Linked DNA regions of Homo sapiens: all the other regions are linked to region 1. The links are contacts of gene promoters, found by promoter capture Hi-C in blood cells and fetal thymus (Javierre and others, 2016). All regions are on one chromosome and are shown on one strand. Each heading gives the region's core, a stretch centred on a gene start or on the middle of the fragment in contact. The rest is flanking DNA. Distances are from core to core; before and after follow the strand shown. Region 1 holds the start of PIR (pirin). Region 2 has its middle 190 kb from the start of MIR548AM. Region 3 overlaps LOC124905249 (a long non-coding RNA gene).

Evidence for each region. The method cuts DNA at HindIII sites, captures the fragments that hold promoters and counts their contacts. A CHiCAGO score of 5 or more calls a contact.
Region 2: a fragment that was not itself captured here is called in contact with the fragment with the promoter of PIR in region 1 in 3 of 17 cell types (total B cells, naive CD8 T cells and total CD8 T cells); the score reaches 7.1 in total B cells.
Region 3: a fragment that was not itself captured here is called in contact with the fragment with the promoter of PIR in region 1 in 2 of 17 cell types (total B cells and naive B cells); the score reaches 10.0 in total B cells.

Annotation. Positions count from the first base shown.
Region 1 is chrX:15,491,943-15,494,642 of GRCh38, reverse strand. It overlaps PIR (pirin), which reads left to right and starts at 1,310. Exons shown (of 10, transcript NM_001018109.3): 1 at 1,310-1,453. RefSeq lists enhancers at 894-1,397, 1,398-1,900. The HindIII fragment of the contact is 4,696 bases long and covers 1-2,700 here.
Region 2 is chrX:16,434,057-16,436,756 of GRCh38, reverse strand. No RefSeq gene overlaps it. Among named protein-coding and RNA genes, the nearest start is that of MIR548AM, 190 kb to the left of the region's middle. The HindIII fragment of the contact is 2,349 bases long and covers 140-2,488 here.
Region 3 is chrX:16,450,661-16,453,360 of GRCh38, reverse strand. The region is part of intron 1 of LOC124905249 (a long non-coding RNA gene); the gene reads left to right. Among named protein-coding and RNA genes, the nearest start is that of MIR548AM, 180 kb to the left of the region's middle. The HindIII fragment of the contact is 8,932 bases long and covers 1-2,700 here.

The sequences.
Region 1 (2,700 bases), core at 61-2,560:
TTCATGTGTATTATCTCAGCTAGCCTTGAACTGCCTAAGTAAGGTGATGAGGACGGGTTTAAGCCCCACTGATATTTTAAAAGCCCAGAGAAAAGTGTTCGTTCCTCTACTAACCTGTTCTTTTAGAGCAGGGATCTGCATACTAGGCCTGCAGCCAAAATGAGTAGGTAGCCCACTACCTATTTTTGTATAGCCAGAGGGCTAAGAATGGTTTTTACATTTTAAGTGGTTTTACATTTAAGATCAAAAGAAGGATAATATTTCATGACAAGTAAAAATTATATGAACTCAAAATTGTATGAATTTTATGAATTTATATTTCAGTATTCATAATTAAAGTTTTATTGAACTACAGCCACATTCATTTATTTACATGTTATCTATGGCTGCTTTCTTGCTACAAAGGCAAACTGGAGAATGTACATGGCCTGCAAAGTCAAAGTATTTACTATCTGGTCCTTCACAGACAAAGTTTTCCAACCTTATTTTAGAGACACCACTGTCTTTCCTTTCTCAAAACCAGGCAATGAGCCTTCTGGTGTTTAGAGAATAGAAACTGCAGCTATGCCTGTACCACTAGTTAATAATCCTAGTAATCAACTAGATCCCCTCACTGGCTTGTGCCAGCTCCTCATTCTTCTGGAAAAACTCTCCAACGCCTGCCCACTGTGTTCCAACACCATACAAACTCTTAACCAATTATCTCCCCACTAGAGTGTGCCTTCTCTTCAGGCAGGAATAAAGACGTATGGCTGCCCGTCCCCACTCCCGCACTCCTTTTCTCGCAATTCTAACTGACAAACAGCAGGCAACTTATCTATGGAACAAACGATTCTGTAGTGCTTAGAATGTGACAGGCTCATTTAATTCTCATTTCAGCCCGATAAGGCTGGCACTATTATCATCACCATCCTCATTTTATAGAGGAGGAACCAGAGGCACAGAGAGACTGAGCCACCTGTCCCAGGTCATGTCAAGTGGTGCCTCCCAGCGGTGGAGGCAGCACTGGAATCCGTGCCGCCAAGCTCCGCCGGCTGGGTGACAGGGAGACTACAGTTAAAAACAGATTTCCCACAAGACCGACCGGAGCGCCGATCAGAGCACCTGCCCGGGCCACACATTTCCTCCTGGAGCACAGCAAGTGCCGCCTAAATTACCCGAGTGAGCATCTCTTCCCGGCACGAGAGGCAGGGAGGCCAAAGGGCCGCCAAGCTGGCCTGGGAGAGGCGTAGGGCGGAGCGAGAGTGGAGTGACATTCCCGAGGGCGGAGCCCCAGGGCCTCCGAGACCCGTAGACTCCCGCCTCCCGCCTCCTCTAGGCCGCCGGCCGCGAAGCGCTGAGTCACGGTGAGGCTACTGGACCCACACTCTCTTAACCTGCCCTCCCTGCACTCGCTCCCGGCGGCTCTTCGCGTCACCCCCGCCGCTAAGGCTCCAGGTGCCGCTACCGCAGCGTGAGTACCTGGGGCTCCTGCAGGGGTCCACTAGGTGAGGGAATGCTGGCGGTCAGTTTGCAAAATCCTGCCTTCCCCAGCTCACTTTAGACTCCTAGGGGAGATAACAAGAGATACTTAAATTGTACTACGAAATTTGGTGAAAATGGTAGACGGCTTTTCTTTCTGCAAAGCACTGAGATCTAAGTACCTCATCAGTTGTTCACATGCATACAATTTAATCGTAGGAGTCTGGAAGGACCCAGACATAATCTAGATGGGGATAAAGATACTTTCTGGTTGCTTCGATGTAGGTGATGACCGGCCTGTACTGCTTTGAGTATTAAGCTCGTTTCTGCGCCTTGCAACCTATCACCCAATAAATATTTATCGATTACTATTCAGGGAGGATACATTTTAGGGTAGGCCTTGACTAAGTGGAGGGTATTGTGGAGTAGAGCCCTTCTGAATAACAGCAGCTAACATTCTCATAGCACTAACTGCACCCCTTTGAGGTAGGCGGTCTTATCATTCCATTTTACAGATAAAACTGAGCCACAGAAAACCTCAGGTCACACAGCTGATATGTGGTGAAGCTGAGATGCAAACCTAGGCTGTCTGGTTCCAGAGTCTGCTTTTTGCCAAAGCACCTCTCTTCGTTTCAGTAGGAATCTTTGAAGGAATTGGGTATATTTCACTTGAAGAAAAGATTTAAGGGATTGGGGGTACTGTCTGCAAACACTTGAAGTGGAATAGGGATAGATTATATTCCTTCTGGGATAGTCCATTAGAACCTAGACCTCCCAAAGAGGAAAAGACTTTCGAATAACAAACTCTGGCTATAGGTAAGTCCTGAAATATGAGATACATTGCCAAGAACAGCTGGTCCATGACTTGCCTATGCTCTAGGAGACTTCATGAGTAAGCTGAAAGATTTCTTGCCCAAAATGTTGGCCCTGAACTTCAGGAATAGATGGGTCTTTGAATTCAATGACCCTCGAAGATCTCTTTTAATGCCAAGATCTTCAGCATGTTCTGGTAAGAGTTAGGGACCTCTTTGTTTTTCTCCATTTTCTCTAAGGCGCCACACAAACCTGCCCCCATCTGTCAGCCTCATTGGTAGCAACTACCTCATGGGTGCTACCAGTGAGGCTGACAGATGAGTGGCACTGGGGAAGGGGTGGGAGATCGAGAGAATTCAGTGAAGTAAGAAAGACAAAGTGTTCATTGGAGATTTTTAGTAAGGGGCCAACAGAGCTGCTAAAGTC
Region 2 (2,700 bases), core at 65-2,564, 940 kb before region 1:
TGCCACTGCTGGACATATTCTGTGGGTGACACCGCTGCACTGGATACTAGAAGCCCTGTCAGCACCACCGCTAAGACTTTCTTTGAGTCATTAACTCAAGATTCAAAGAGCTGAGTGGGAGCACCTGATTGGCCAAGCTTAGACTATGTGCCCCCTCCTAGCGCAGCAGCCAGGGCTCAGAGAAAGCCAGAATCTGATCTTTTCTTTTGCAAGAGGGAGGAACTGCCTTCCCTAAGGCTCACGCCATGGGACATTCTCCAGATTTAAGGATAGCATCCAGATCCTGGAAAACCCTTCCTAGAAAAGCAATTACAATGTATTCTTTGGCTACTTGATATCCACATGTACTTTTCTTTCCATATTTTCATGTCACAGTAATCAAGGAAATGTGTAGCGTCTACTGTCACCATTTATACTTCTACCACAAGGCAACAGCTGGTATTTATAACTCCCACCTCTCCCTATTCCAGATCTCCTTTGCCTGCAGCCTGTACCTCAGATTCTCAGTGTGTTTTACTTAGTAGAGTCACTCAAATCTTCATTTCTAAGGAAATTGAACTCTTGGTGGGCCTGCCTGGATTGTCCTGTATTAGTATTTCATTAATTTTTATTACTGGACAAGATAATAATAGGAGGAACTGTAAGACTCACCCAATTTCATTCATACTCATCCCTGCTTGTATCGAGTAGCAGCAACTCAACTGACCCTTAATAGTAAGATGATACTTACTCCTCACCTTTTTTTTTTAATGAGTTTTTTTCTCACCTTTTTTTCTCAAGGGAATGTGTGTGGAGGCCAGCATGGTAATGTGAAAGTCTTGGCTTCTCACTAAATGAAAATCATTCTTGTGGAAAATTTATTTCTTTAGGTACTAAAGCACTTTACATATATTAACAACTTTAGCCCTCCCCAAAATACCGTGGGATTTTACCTTTTACAGATAGGAGAATAGAGGCACAGAGAGGTTAAGTAACCTGTTCAAAATCACACAGCTAGAAAGCAGTAGAGATAGGATTTGAACCCAGCCAATCTGGTCCCTGCTCTTCATGTCTTCTTAATATGATACAGTATTCAGGAATGTCCTGTGTGGTGGCGAGAAAGTCAAGGTTCCTGCATAGCAAATTGTGGAACAGAACTAGAAAAGCCCTGTGACAAGTTGGTAAGGTGTTCTGCTATCCCTGCTAGGTAAAAGCAAAATGCTTCTGGTGTTTATCAGATAAGAGACAAAGATATTTGACTCTGCAAGGATGGACATTTTTGTTTGTTTTGCTCACTTCACTATACCCAGTACCTAGAACATTACCTGGAACATAGTAGGTGCTCAATTCACTGAAGAATGAATAAATGCCAGACACCAGGGACTGGGTTATGTTTCCTCATTAGTAGGCCACATCCATAAATGCAGCTGCAATTGGAATCACCCCCTCATGAAGCACATGTCAATCCACCATCATTCTCCAAGAAGCCCCCATCCTCTGCACTGGACAAACTGGAAAGTTAGGTGGGGATGTACTAGGAATCACCTTCCCTGCATTTCTTAAGATTTTCATGGTGACACTAATTGCTATAATTTTCTCAGATATGGTATTGCTTTTTATTTTTCATTTTGAGTGCAATGGGTAATCCTAGGGGCTTCCATTGGACTTATTTTACCTGTGGTTCAGAGACAATGTGGGGATTCTAGCAGTGGCTAGATTTACCTATTCAAAGTAAATCCTTAGGAAACAGATAGATAAACTATCATGGGCTGAGTTCAGAGTGTTAGTCTGTCCACTTTAAATTAGACTGGGACTGGGACCTAAATGCTATTGATCACCTGAATCTTGTAAGTCTCCACCCTAATTAGTGAGTGGCAGTGTTATTTACTCAGATTCAATGTTCAATAATATCTGAAATGGGTAGGCATTTCCCTTTGCCCAATACGCTGTTTCCTTGATAAATATTTACAAGTCAAAGGATAGGAGGAAGATTCCCCAATATTTTTGTGAAGTAATTTCAGGACACTTCTTTAAGGCCCTGCCTGACTTCCCCTTCATTAGGGGATTCAGGGCCTGTGAAGGTTAGTCTTCCTTGTGCAAGGTAATTCTTACAAGGAAAGAGAGTTACGGAGTCTTCAGGTAAGTCATGAGCTGCCTCAGACGTGGGAGGAAGAATGGCTTGAGCTGAAAACCTAGGTTCAGTGGAGTTTGGAGATTTGGTGTTTGAGGCCTTGACACCCTCCCACTGAACACCATTGCAGTTCTCAGGGTCTGCTCTTTCCTTATTGATGCCCTAACTTTCATATAAGGCCCTTGATGAGTCTGTGATTCAGTTGATGTTCTAAATTAGTCCCCACTGGAGTAGAGGATTGATTCTGGGTAGTTTTGTACTGCTGCTACAAAAAATAAGACATTCTTTTTTAGCACAGGGATACAAAATCCTCCTGGTTCTGGGTTTTGCTTTCAGCCAAGAACTAGGGATTTGAGTATCATTCTCTCTCTTTAAGCTTTCCAGTATTAGCCACCTCATTCTCCAGTCCTGGTTTCTCATGCTGCTGTATATGGCACCACCAATGTGGGCTCCCAAGGCTTGCTTACAAACCACCAATGTGGGCCCCCAAGTCTTGCTTACAAAAAAAATTACTGTATAAATTACAGTTTGATTAGTTGCTCTTCCACTGTGGGCCACTGTTTACCAGATTTTCATTCCTGAATGTTTGC
Region 3 (2,700 bases), core at 152-2,651, 960 kb before region 1:
GAAGAGCCAGTCAATTTTTTCTTTTTTCTTTTTTCTTTTTTTTTAGTGGAGGTATGACGTGATAAAAACTGTGGTTAAGGATTGCTTCTATAATAATACAGTCACGCCCCACATAACGTTTTGGTCAAGGATAAACCACATTTGCAACAGTGGTCCTGTACGATCATAATACCGCATTTTTACTGTACTTTTTCTACATTTATTTATTTACTCTAAATATAGAGACAGAGTCTCACTCTGTCACCCAGGCTGGAGTGCAATGGCGCGATCTCAGCTCATTGCACCCTCTGCCTCTGGGGCTCAAGCAATTTTCCTGCCTCAGCTTCCCAAGTAGCTGGGACCACAGATGTGCACCACCATGTCTGGCTAATTTTTGTATTTTTTGTAGAGACAGGGTTTCGTCATGTTGCCCAGGCTGGTCTTGAACTCCTGAGTTCAAGCGATCCACCCACCTCAGCCTCCTGAAGTGCTGGAATTACAGGCATGAGCCACCGCACCTGGCACTTTTTCTATGTTTAAATGCAAAAAAAAGATACTTAACATTGTGTTACAACTGCCTATAGCATTCAGTAGTCACATCCTGTGCAGGTTTGTAGTCTAAAGCAATAGGCCATACCACATAGCCTAGGTGTGTAGGTTTGTATAAGTACACTCTATGATGTTTGCACAATTACAAAAATCACCTAAAGAAGCATTTCTCGGATTGTATTCCCATCGTTGAAGTGACCCACAACTGTGTATTGGATGGATGGCAGGAGAGGAAGAAACCCCAAAACGGCAGTTCAACATTACAAATTATACCTCTAAATTGAGACAGGGGAAGTGCCACTGTGGTCAGAGGGTTTGAGGAGACTTCAGGGAGGGGATGGTTGGAAATTGATCTGAATCTTGAAGGACGCACAGGATATTTGGAGGGAGGTGAGAGTCATTCCAGGGTGGGAGATGTTTATGAACTGTCATCCAGTCACGTTAAGAAATAAAAAAATTGGCCGGGCACGGTGGCTCACGCCTATAATCCCAGCACTTTGGGAGGCCGAGGTAGGCAGATCATCTGAGGTCGGGAGTTCAAGACCAGCCTGACCAACACGGAGAAACTCCGTCTCTACTAAAAATACAAAATTAGCTGGGGTGGTGGCACATGCCTGTAATCCCAGCTACTCAGGAGGCCGAGGCAGGAGAATCACTTGAACCCGGGAGGTGGAGGTTGCAGTGAGCCGAGATCGCGCCATTGCACTCCAGTCTGGGCAACAAGAATGAAACTCCATCTCAAAAAAAAAAAAAAAAAAAAAAGAAATAAATAAAAAAATTAACACCTTATTTTGAACTCCTTCCCATTGCCCATTCACATTCTGGGCAATTGTCTCACTTCTACTGCTGCTTGCATGTAAAATCTGTACTCTGTGCCAGGGCCTTGAGTGCCTTGTACAACACACTCAAAAAAATCTCTATAAATGTCTCTTCCCAAGTCTCTCCTCTCAGCCATTCAATTTCCCAGCTCCAGCCCCGACACCACTTATCCCTTCAGGCGGCTTCTCCCCTTCTTTCATTCCTCCCCTGGGAAGATTTCAGCCCTGTCCTGGTTTCTTTCTTTAGTCTTGTTACTGCCACCCAACAGGCAGGATTCCTTAGGTATGGAGGGGCCATTTTACTGAGGATAAAGCATTTGGGGTGCCTCCAGCTCTCGGCACCTGCCCGCCTGCCGACTGCTATCATAGAGTGAATTGAAGATTTTTTATAAAGGTACTTTTCATTGTGCAAGTTAAGTACAAACATGATCCCTCACTGTAAGAAACTTATGATCTCACCATTGGGTGGGGCTATACAAGACTGAAGAAAGAAGCCAGGACATGGGGAAAATTTTCCACATAAGTAGGGTAGATGGTGATATCTGAGCTGGAGGAAAAAGATGAGCCCAGGAGTTGCATGGCTCAGAGAAAAGACTTGGGGAGAGGTATTTATAGGAAATTTTATGAGATGTGCTATGTGCTGTGCAGTGCAGATTTCTTATTCATCTCCTCAGGAGACGATCAGTGGATTTTCACTGATTCTTTAGCACAAATGGATCCTTTATGATGTCTGAGGAGAGTGCTCAGTCCTGCTTATGGTGAGAGGACAGAGGCTGCCACCTGTGAGATTGGACACAGGGACTTTCTTGCTCTCCTGCTTCTCCTCTTGGCCCAGCATGGTGGAATACAGGCTGGATGCCCAGTAAATACTTCTGATTCAAATGTATTTTTATTTTTACAACTTCCCTTTGAGACCCACAATTTTATCCTTGTTTTCCAGATAGGAAAACCATGAGCCTGAATTACCATACTTCTGCTTCCCAGATTCTTGCACACTATAGGAGAGATATTAGAGGATTTATGCTAGATACTGTCTTCTACTTTATACATTATATCCGAATGCATAAGTCTTATTTCAGTCACACAGCCTTCACTTTTGTGTTTCATTTTCACTTTTCAGCACAAAGATTATATATTATATCTGGGTAATAAAATCAGAGGTAATGTTTGGCTCCAAGAAAGCAAACATATATCTACCTATGTTGAAATTTTACCCCTTTTCCACAATAGTTCAATAGCCATTAAGACTCATGCCTAAGAAAGCAGTGATAAATAAGAGGAACATATGTACAAAACGTTGGTTAAAGGCACAAAGCCATGGGTGCTCGAGGAATTCTGAAATATTTGAACTCAT